4 separate regions of the Homo sapiens genome follow, and all the other regions are linked to region 3. Evidence: promoter capture Hi-C in 16 types of primary human blood cells and fetal thymus (Javierre and others, 2016). All regions are on one chromosome and are shown on one strand. Each heading gives the region's core, a stretch centred on a gene start or on the middle of the fragment in contact. The rest is flanking DNA. Distances are from core to core; before and after follow the strand shown. Region 1 overlaps HOMER2 (homer scaffold protein 2). Region 2 has its middle 6.5 kb from the start of MIR4515. Region 3 holds the start of RAMAC (RNA guanine-7 methyltransferase activating subunit). Region 4 overlaps HOMER2 (homer scaffold protein 2).

Region 1 (2,755 bases), core at 3-2,502, 75 kb after region 3:
TGAGTACGGGGTTTGAGGGGTGCTCTGAAAATGCCCTGAAATTAAGCAGTGGTGATGGTTACGCAATTCTGTGAATAAAAAGCCACTGAATTGGGGACTTTAAAAAGGTAGATTTTATGGTGTCCACATTATATCTCAATACAAATAACTTTAAAAATTATTCATTTTTTATGTGAAATTTAAATTCATTTATTTATTTTTTGGGACAGAGTTTCACTCTGTTGCCCAGGCTGGAGTGCAGTGGTGCGATCTTGGCTCACTGCAACCTCCGCCTCCTGGGTTCAAGCAATTCTCCTGCCTCAGCCTCCCAAGTGGCTGGGATTACAGGTACTTGCCACCACACCTAGCTAATTTTTGTACTTTTGTAGAGATGGGGGTTTTACCATGTTGACCAGTCTGGTCTCGAACTCCTGACCTCAGGTGAGGTCCTGTCTCGGCCTCCCAAAGTGCTGGAATTACAGGTGTGAACCACCTCACCCGGCCGTGAAATTTAAATTTAGCTGAAAGTCCTGTCTTTTTATCTGCCAAATCTGGCAACTCTATACTTGCCAACTGTTCTTGTAAATAAAGTTTTATTGGAACACACACATATAGCCATTAGCCTGAGAGACCAACTGATAGTGTAAATGAAAATATAAACACTCTTTTGAGGTATGTCTGCACCTTTGGTTTTATGCTTTACACTTTTTGTAATTGACTTGGCAAGTTACCAGCTCTTTACACCATGCAATCTAATTTTAAACTAAAGTGATTCCTAGGAAAATAAAAAAACAGCTTTTTTTCCCCTAAACCTAAATTCAGAGTGGTAGCCGTACATTTACAACGACTGGCTTCTAGAAGTGGTACTAGGGTACTTCTTGCTGCTACCTGGAAACCTGAAAGGGTAGGTACCTGGGAACCATAAAACCAGTTTGCCAAAACTAGAACTAATTTGCAAGTAAAGGAAAAAAACAAGTCCTAGACTTCTAAGTTTTTAAACTTTGAACAATTTTCTTAAGTTATAAAAGCACAGTTATTCTTTTTGAAGATTTCTTTGTTTAATTTGCTGATGGTAATAGGGAGAGAGAGCTAGATTCTCTATGGGAGGGTTGAGCTGTCTAAGGTGGCAAAGGGATTCTCTTCCCTGCAGTGGCGTCTTACACCTATAATCAACATAACATTCCTTTAACAGTCTGCTATTAATAGCAAAAAGGCACTTTGCACATGTTATCACATTTAATCTTAACAAACCCTTGAGGTGGTTATATTAATGTCCCTACCTCACACAGACTGAAGGGACTTAGCCCTGAACCCTCCTCCCTTACTCCTTAAGAAGAGAAACGGAAAAGTTGTGTGGAGCAGCCTTCCTCTTGTTTAACTTTGACCCTGACAGAAACCAGACTTGAAACTAGGCACTGTTACGTTGCTGAGACAAAATGAAGAATGTTTCTGAGGAGAACAAAAATCACCTGGTGACCATTGAACAGGCCCCGGAGACAAAAACTCCCATCTGAGGAATTTAGAAGGGAGCAAAGACCACCTGGTGACCATCAAACACGCCTTCCGAGGCAAACTCCTTATCTGGGAAATTAGAAGTAATTGCACTTCCCTATTATCTAAAGCAGGCATCTGGTTCCAGATTTCTTTCCCCCAAAATTTATAAGTCACTAGGATTTCTATACATCTCCAGAATGCCATGCCAAAACGTACTGTGCAACCCTTGCTGACATTAAGGCACCAGAATTACTACAGATGTAATCATTTATCATGACCTACGTGGCTAGTATGGTCCAAATTACCCTCAAGCTCCTGCCTTAAGGTCCATAAATACCCCTAAGGAAAAATCCACCATAAGGTGCTCAGTCCTCTCACCGACTCACCCCACTGGACTCCTCGGCAGCGTTCCTTCTTTCTAATAAAACTTCTTCAAGCCTATATGGTTGTCAGTAAATTCTTACCAACCCACGAGTCAACCACTTTACAATGTGGGGGCTTTGACACCTCACCTGGCAGTATCATCTTTTTAATGTGTATTTGAGATGTCCGTCACTTTCTTTACCTTTCTCAGTAAAGGTAGGGAAACAAGTTAGCCTTTTTTTTTTTTTTTTTTTTTTTTTTTTGAGACAGAATCTTGCTCTGTTACCCAGGCTGGAGTGCAGTAGCATGATCTCAGCTTACTGCAACTTCTACCTCCCAGGTTCAAGCGATTCTCCTGCCTCAGCCTCCTGAGTAGCTGAGATTACAGGCACACACCACCATGCCTGGCTAATTTGTATTTTTAGTAGAGACGGGGTTTCACCATGTTGGCCAGGCTGGTCTCAAACTCCTGACCTCGGGTGATCTATCTGTCCCGGCCTCCCAAAGTGTTGGGATTACAGGCATGAGCCACCGCACCCAGCTGAAACAAGTTAGCTTTTAATATGATATGTAACTGTAGGATACAGTAAAATTCCTCTTCAAAGGTTTTAGCCTGTTAACTTCCTTTAAAATCCAAGAGTGGAAAAGTTGTTAAGTACAATGAGTTCTGAGTTCCTCTTCAAAGAGCCAATATGTCAGTATGTTCAGCTCTCTGGTTCTTTGTTCTCCATTTTAAAGTTTAACTTCCTTGTTCTTTACACCTCCTTGCCCCTAGCTTCAGTAAATGACCCCCTCCTAGCCTCTATTACCTGCTCTGACCTTAGTCATCCTTGGTCACCTGCTCTGTCCTTAGTCATCCTTGGTCACCTGCTCTGTCCTTAGTCATCCTTAGTCACCTGTTCTGTAACCATCCCTCCCG
Region 2 (2,700 bases), core at 150-2,649, 88 kb before region 3:
ATGGGAAGTGTTTGGATCACAGGGCAGGTCCGACATAAATGTCTTGGTGCTATTCTCATGGGAGTAAGTGAATTCTCACTCTTAGTTCTCATTAGAACTGATTATTGAAAGAGCCTGGCACCTCCTCCCCTCTCTCTTGCTTCTTCTCTCACCATGTGATCTGTACATGCCAGCTGCCCCCTTTGCCTTCCACCATGAGTAGAAGCAGCCTGCAAAACTGTGAGCCAAATAAACCTCTTTTCTTTATAAATTATGTAGCATCAGGTACTCCTTTATAGCATCACAAATGGACTAGGACAGAAAATTTGTACCAAGGGTCGGGGGTTACTAGGAAGATACCTGAAAATGTGGAAGTGGTTTTAAAACTGAGTAATGGGAAGATGTTGGAAGAGTTTGGAGGGCTCAGAAGAAGACAGGAAGACAAGGGAAAGTTTGAAACTTTGAGACTGGTTAAGTGGTTGTGGGCAAAATGCTGATAGAAACATGAACAATGAAGGCCAGGCTGATGAGGTCTCAGTTGGAAATGAGGCACTTATTGGGAACTGGAGCAAAGGTCACCCTTGTTAAACTATAGCAAATAACGTGGCTGCATTGTGTCCATGCACTAGGACTTTGTGGAAGGCTGAACTTCAGAGTGATGACCTAGGGTATCTGGTAGAAGAAATTTCTAAGCAGCAAAGCATCCAAGACATGGTGTGGCTACTTTTAACAGATTATGAGCAGATATAGGAGTCAAGGCATGATCTAAAATTGGAACTTAAAAGGGAAGCAGAGAGTAAAACTTTGGAAAATTCTCAGCCTGGCCATGTGGTACAGAAGGAAAGAACATTTTCAGGTGAGGAATCCAAGAGCACAGCTGAGCCACCACTTGTTAGAGAGATTATCACAGATAAAAGGGAGGCAGGTGCTCGGGCCAGGCGTGGTGGCTCACGCCTGTAATCTCAGCACTTTGGGAGGCCAAGGTGGGCAGATCACAAGGTCAGGAGTTCAAGACCAGCCTGGCCAACATGGTGAAACCCCGTCTCTACTAAAAATACAAAAATTAGCTGGGCATGGTGGCACATGCCTATAATCCCAGCTACTTGGTAGGCTGAGGCAAGAGAATAACCTGAACCCAGGAGGTGGAGGTTGCAGTGAGCCAAGACCATGCCACTGCACTCCAGCCTGGCAACAGAGCGAGACAGTCTTTAACAAAAAAAAAAAAAAAAAAAAAAAAAAAAAAAAAAAAAAAAAAAAAAAAAAGGGAGGCAGGTGCTAATAGTCAAGACAATGGAAAAAGTCCCTGAAGGCATTTCAGAAATCTTCAAGTCTGTCTCTCCCATCACAGGCCAGGGGTCTAGGAGGACAGAATGTTTTGGGGGCCAGGCCTGGGGTGCTGCTGCCCTGCAGCCACCTTTGGACTCTGCTTCCTACATTCCAGCCCTGGGTGCTGCTCAGGCTGCCTATCCAGAGGATGCAAGCCATAAGCCTTGGTGGCATCCACGTGGTGTTAAGTCTGCAGATATGCAGAATGCAAGAGTAGCAAAGGCTTACATTTCCTTGTAGTTTGATATATTTCATCAGTATGGAAATTTTCCAGCCAGTATTTTTTTCAAATGCTCTTCTGCCTCATTCTCTATCATCCTTCTATGACTCCATTATACATATGTTAGTCCTTTTCACTTTGTCTCATGATTAACAGAATTAACAGACATATGTTGTTTCCTATTTATTTATTTATTTTATTGAGACAGGATCTCATTCTGTTGCCCAGGCTGGAGTGCAGTGGCATGATCATGGCTCACTGCAGCCTCCACCTCCAGGGTTCAAGTGATTCTCCTGCATCAGCCAGCTGAGTATCTGGGATTACAGTTGGACACCACTATGCCCAGCTAATTTTTGTATTTTTTGTAAAGGTGGAGCTTTGCCATGTTGCCCAGGCTGGTCTCAAACTCCTGGCCTTAAGCAATCTGCCTGTCTTGGGCTCCTAAAGTGCTGGGATTACAGGTGTGAGCTGCTGTGCCTGGCCTGTTTTCTGTATTTTCTATGCTTTTTTCTCTCTGTGTTTCAATTTAAACATTTTCTACAGGCTTGTCTTCCAGTTACATTAATTCTCTGTTCTGCTATATCTAATTTTCTATTAAACACAAATTAGTTATTAATTTGTTATAGTACTTTTTCAGGTCAAGGATCTCCATTTGACCCTTCTGCACAGATTCCAATTCTCTGGTAAAATTCTTCATCTTTTTTCTATTTTTTTCATACAGTAATTATAGTTATTTTATTTATTATTATTATTATTATTATTATTTTTATTTTTTTTTTTTTTGAGATGGGATCTCGCTCTGTCAGGCCCAGGCTGGAGTGCAGTGGTGCAATCTTGGCTTACTGCGACCTCCGCCTCCCAGGTTCAAGCGATTCTCCCACCTCAGTCTCCCAAATAGCTGGGATTATAGGCACCCACTACCACGCCCAGCTAATTTTTTGTATTTTTAGTAGAGATAAGGTTTTACCATACCGGCCAGGCTGGTCTCAAACTCCCTACCTCAGGTGATCCACCTGCCCTCAGACTCCCAAAGTGCAATCATAGTTATTTTAAAGTCCTTGTCTGATAAATTCAATACCTGAATCCTATAGAACTGATTCCATTATCTTCTCTCTCTCTCCCTCTCTCTCATGTTTTCAATATGCCTCATAATTTTTAATTTTCTTGACAACATT
Region 3 (2,700 bases), core at 75-2,574:
ATAAGGCAAGGAAAAGGTGCTACTCCATTTTTATGTTCTCATATGTTCTCCCACGACTCCCCACCCATACTCATGTAAACAAATATCAACTGTATTATTACTGAGAACGAAATTTAAATAGAATGTTAATCGACCCAAGCTTTACTTACCCCAAAGGTTTGAGGCAGCTGTACTGCTTAATGTTTAGGTTGTTTAAATCTGTGGGAGGAAAAAAACAAACTTGACTTTATTTAAGGAAACTCTCAAAAGGTGTTTGTAGGGGAGGGTGGCGCATAAGAGTCTTATTCAAGGAAAGAATTGGAGTAAAAGTGCTCTAAGGCCAGGCGCGGTGGCTCACCTCTGTAATCCCAACACTTTGGGAGGCCGAGGCGGGCAGATCACGAAGTCAAGAGATCGAGACCAGCCTGGCTAACACGGTGAAACCTCGTCTCTCCTAAAAATAGAAAAAATTAGCCAGGCGTGGTGGCATGTGCCTGTAGTCCCAGCTACTCGGGAGGCTGAGGCAGGAGAATCGCTTGAACTTGGGAGGCGGAGATCGCGCCACTGCACTCCAGCCTGGGCGACAGAGCGAGACTCCGTCTCAAAAAAAAAACAAAAAACAAACCAAAAAAACGCTCTAAAGACTTCCAAAGCTAATATTCCAAAGAGGGAACTGGTTCTCAAGAGCAAGAAGCTACAAGATTTGTCCTCTGGGCCTTCAAAAGCAAAATAGTTCAAGTATGAATACAAACTTCATAAAGTATGTATGTTCTTTTAGGGTAAGCCTTTCAGATTTGTACTTGAATACTGCTAATTTATTCACCACAAATAAAACCACAAAGAACTTTGGCTGCGGGCGACTAACCCTGGAAATAACCAACCAGAATGGGGTTTCGCTGCCCTGGGAGGTGAGCCCGGGGAACAGACGAAGATGCAGACTGAAAACAACTGCGTTTTCCAGTCCGTCCTCAAGGCACATCACAGCTTGCTTACCAAGGTTCTGGCAGATTTGCTCCCTTCCGAAGCACCTTATACCTCCAGAAGTGAGGGAAATTATGGGCCGTGAGAAGTAAACGGGCTTCGGTCTAGCAAAGAGTACAGATCACCGCACAGGGGGAGGACACCTCGCTGGCCACCCAGCTCGGCCGCCCCGCTCCCTCCTCCCGGGCGTCCGGGGCGACTCACCCGCCAAGGGCTATGTCAATCCAGCTCAGGCCGAACCCCGCCGGCGAGACACTGAGAAGCCCAGGAGAGGTGGCCTCTGGTCCACTACACCGTGGAACTCCAGACCACTCCAGTTCTCCAATGTAACCGAGCGCCTTCCTCTAAAATCCGACAACCACCTGACTTCCGCTTCCGGCGGGCTAAAGTTGAGGGTGCCTGTCAAGTCTCGCGATAACTAAGGCTCTCCGTGTGGATCGCTTTGCAACAGATCGCTTCTTCAAATGCTGGCACAACGCCCAGAGCTCGATGAGGTGTGGGCAAGTAGCTGTCTAAAGGTGGATGATGCCCTCCATGCACTTTCAGCCTGCCTGGTGGCTGGGCAGTCGAAAACGTCGCCGTCTATTAAGCTCCTTTGATTGGGAGCAGGTGACGGGTAGAGACGGAAGTTCTGGGAATCACCGGAGAAGGGAGGGAAGGGCTCCTTCCGGCCGCCTGCTCCCGGAGTCTTCGTGGGGAACGTGAGGTGAGAGCAGGCGGTGAAGAGTAGACACGACTGATGACTTCAGGGATGCTACACCTTTCTCTCCTGCCTGGGCAAGCCTCGGTAGTAAGATTTCCGTAGTCCGTTTTGTATGTGGTTTTGCAGAAACATACCCCCTCTCTGCTCCAGCTTCAGTCGTCAGTATCCAGCTACTTCCAAGAGTCTTGCCCATGTCTTGTGGGATGTTCAGCAAATGTATAAACACTTAATATCCCGACAAAGCTTGGCCTCTTCCCTCCCAAATTACTTCCCAGGCTATGCACCCGTTTTTGTTAATACAACCAACTTGGAAACTTTGATGTCAGATTTGATGCCCTTTCTTGCCTTTCCATGCTCCAATCACTTGCCAAGTCCTGTCGATTGTACCCCTACAGTAATTCTTGCATCTTCTTACCCACTGCCCCCACCTAATCAACGTTCTCATTACCATCCCCTGCACGGTGTCAGTGCAGTACCTTTCTCATTGATGTCCTGCCTCTAGCATCACTCTGCTACTAGCCTATCTTACATATACCTGCTATAGGTGTAGCCATCTTCAAGCACCACCGTGATCCAAAATAGCTGATCCAATGGCTCTCTGTTGCCTGTAGATTAAAGGTCAAGTTTATTAACTTGGATTCAAAACTTTTTTTATTTTCTGCTGTTCCCCTTCCATTCTCCCTCAGTCAGTGGTAAACCAGACCCTGTGAAGTACGTCATGCATAAATTATTACATTTTTATAGATTGCTCATGTCCCTTGCATGAAATACCTGTCTCTCCCCCTCATCTCCAAATGTTGAAATTCTTTCCATTATTTAAAGCTTTAGAAAGTGACATCTCTACCTAGAAATAATTTTTCTTTCTATTGAGAGTCCATCATATTTCTGGAATTTCATGTATTTAGTTATTACCACTTTCTAACTTCGAACTAAAATTATTTACTTGCAAGTCTTTCCCCCTATTAAACTGTAAACAGGCCTTTATCTAATGCATTTCTACATTCTGGAGTGTATAACATTGTGCTTTTTTTGTTTGT
Region 4 (2,700 bases), core at 30-2,529, 120 kb after region 3:
GCAACTTGCTAGTTTTTGTTTTGTCTGCAACCATATTTAGCTCTTACTTTGTAATACCACCATTATCACAGGCTATTCTCTGTTCAAACAATGAATTTGCTAATTAAAATTGGCCACCTTGTTAGTGGCAATAAGCTAATGGGTGATATGATTGTCCCAGGACTTGAAGAACTGTTTTATTATGGAACTATTAAGATATTAATAAAAAGTGGAGGGCATAGTATAATGAACACCCATATACACATTACCTAGATTTAACAGTTGTTAACATTTTACCACATTTCTTCATCTCTTTTATTGTTTTTGAAGTACTTTAAACTATAAGCATCAAGACATTTCACTCCTAAATACTTAGTATTCATCTAGAAAAAAATGACACTAAGAGGTTTTGGATCTTTTCGGTATGGATTATGAAGTTTTCCGTGGATTTCTTTTGTGGTATAGCCAAATTTCATTTGCCATTTTTGTATTAGTTTGTTTTTAATACATCATCATCAAACTAGCTTCAGTAGCTTAGATATGGGTTCAGAACTGACCTTGCCCAGTGCTGTTTACTGGAATATACATCCTTATATTCATTTAATAGCAAATAAAATTCTTCTGGATTTATACAGAATGTATGGGCCTAAAATGGATGCAAAATAAATAAAGGTGGGTTCTGAATACCAGCCATGAGTGAGGTTAATAAAAGCCTTAATAACTATTCTTCATGTTCAGTTTGCAGAGAAATTCCAGGAGGTGAAAGAAGCTGCCAAGATAGCCAAAGACAAGACGCAGGAGAAAATCGAGACCTCAAGTAATCATTCCCAAGTAAGACATTAGTCTATGAAGTAAATCCCAGTGGGGTTGGTGATAGGGACTCTTTGTTCCTTGTCACTTCTGGCCAGAAATAGGGAATTTTGACAATAGGTCATTTTGAAGGCTTTTTCAACTATTAGCCTGATCACAGTGACATGTTTTTATGAGACTCTTGAATTTTTTAGGATGTGGTACTGTATTTCTGACAGAAAATGGTTGATGTGATTTGAGTTAATACACATCCTGGCCCAGGAGAGACATTCTGTGGTCACTGTGTTTAAATGCCAGAGGCGAGGCAGCATGTCTCCTGGCTGTGCTGGGAGGTGAGTTTCTGTGTAGGGTACCTTGTGCCCACAAGAGAGAGACTTGATGTCAGACAGCCCTTGTGTTCATCTCCGGTTTTAACAGAGGTCAGGTGGAAGTGGTTATTCCAACAGCTCTGTCTTAACAGAGGAGATCCGGCTTGGCCAGGAATTCAGTAGTCTGTCTAAAGTGTGAAGATTGACTGAAAAGGACCTATTTTAATCTGAAATCAACACACCCACTTTCCTGATGTCTAGATTAGTATATGTGGTGGTGGGGGAAGTCGACCTAGTGACAGGGTTATATGTAGAAAGCCAGGGAAAGGGAGACTTCAGGAGAGAATACTTAGGGGCAGGAGTAAGTGTGATATACTAGCAAGATAGCCAGGAGTCTGCCTGCTGGCAGCTGAGGTGTGCTGTCGGAGGCGTTGAGATGTGCTTGGAGATACTGTGAAGACCTAGAATTCTTCATTACTGGGTAATTTTTTATTTATTAGCTACTTGTTTAATTATTCTTGAGTAGTTGGTGGACGTTGGAAGTGTGTTGTGACTGTTGATTTGGATTTCACCTGAGAGGGTTGGCTTGCTTGCAGATGGTAAGGCAGGCAGGGAGGGACTGAGAGCAGAAAGATTGTCGAGGGGGCTGTGAAGGAGAGAATAGCTGGGCCAGGGAAGCCCGGGGAGGGGGTTGCAAATGAGGACAGGTTGCAGGAAGAGAACCAGGAGGCCTGGGCATCTTGAGCAGTCAAGATCGATGCTCTAGACTTGACCATCAGCCTCACAGGGGCAGTAGCTGCAGTCTCGGGTGCACAAAGAAGCAGTGGAGAGAGGAGGGCAGATGCTGGAGCCCTAGGAAATAGGCCCAGTTATGAAATGGGAGCCAGCAAAGATGACAGGGAGGGAGAAATTCCAGCATCGCTGAGCCCCAGGAGGGAGTATGCCCAATATGTCGGTGCTCAGAGAGGAGGGGAGAGAATGCTGACAGGGACCCTGGGTTTGTCAGTGCTGTGGCCGACCCTTGGGACAGGAGATTTGGTGTGGCTCAGGATGTTTCACAAAGGCAGAACCTATGTCTGCCTTGAGTTGTCTTTCCAATACCTTGTTCTGGCCTCATCATATAAAATATGCCCACATGGACCTATGGAAATGCATGTGAATTCGATTTCAGGTAGACAGGAACTTTCCTGAATCTTTCTAAATAATCTTTAATATGATTCAGTGATACCATTAATTTTGTATGCTAATTACTTGATTAATCTCTGAGGACCTATGAAATTCAGCATCTGAAATTGTCCATGGTCTAGAAAGTTTCTAATATACTATCTTTTTCAGAATACCGCATAGTACAGTGATATATTTAAGTTTAATATCTGAATTTCTCCAGATAAGATTTTGTTTTAATATTTACCCCCTCTCAAAAGTTTATTTATTTGAGACGGGGTCTTGCTGTGCTGCCCCTGGGCTCGAGTAGTCTTCCTGCCTTGGCCTCCCAGGTAGCTGGGATTACAGGCATAAGCTAAGTATTTTAAACCTTAAAAATACATGTATACCTAATAAGATGTTATTTAACGTATATGTATTATTTAGGAATGACTTTTTG

What was found. The method cuts DNA at HindIII sites, captures the fragments that hold promoters and counts their contacts. A CHiCAGO score of 5 or more calls a contact.
Region 1: a fragment that was not itself captured here is called in contact with the fragment with the promoter of RAMAC in region 3 in 2 of 17 cell types (M2 macrophages and megakaryocytes); the score reaches 6.4 in M2 macrophages.
Region 2: a fragment that was not itself captured here is called in contact with the fragment with the promoter of RAMAC in region 3 in 3 of 17 cell types (neutrophils, naive CD8 T cells and total CD8 T cells); the score reaches 6.2 in neutrophils.
Region 4: a contact is called between a fragment that was not itself captured here and the fragment with the promoter of RAMAC in region 3, in 8 of 17 cell types (megakaryocytes, M2 macrophages, M0 macrophages and 5 more). The highest score is 17.8, in megakaryocytes.

Annotation. Positions count from the first base shown.
Region 1 is chr15:82,909,477-82,912,231 of GRCh38, reverse strand. The region is part of intron 1 of HOMER2 (homer scaffold protein 2); the gene reads left to right. All of the region lies in intron 2 of LOC105370928 (a long non-coding RNA gene), which reads right to left. Among named protein-coding and RNA genes, the nearest start is that of HOMER2, 42 kb to the left of the region's middle. The HindIII fragment of the contact is 5,351 bases long and covers 1-2,755 here.
Region 2 is chr15:83,072,516-83,075,215 of GRCh38, reverse strand. No RefSeq gene overlaps it. Among named protein-coding and RNA genes, the nearest start is that of MIR4515, 6.5 kb to the right of the region's middle. The HindIII fragment of the contact is 7,362 bases long and covers 1-2,700 here.
Region 3 is chr15:82,984,834-82,987,533 of GRCh38, reverse strand. RAMAC (RNA guanine-7 methyltransferase activating subunit) reads right to left here and starts at 1,324. Exons shown (of 4, transcript NM_031452.4): 1 at 1,165-1,324; 2 at 150-198. It also overlaps a transcript of HOMER2 not described here. The HindIII fragment of the contact is 1,767 bases long and covers 142-1,908 here.
Region 4 is chr15:82,862,277-82,864,976 of GRCh38, reverse strand. HOMER2 (homer scaffold protein 2) reads left to right here. Exons shown (of 9, transcript NM_004839.4): 4 at 718-810. Among named protein-coding and RNA genes, the nearest start is that of WHAMM, 54 kb to the right of the region's middle. The HindIII fragment of the contact is 3,796 bases long and covers 1-2,700 here.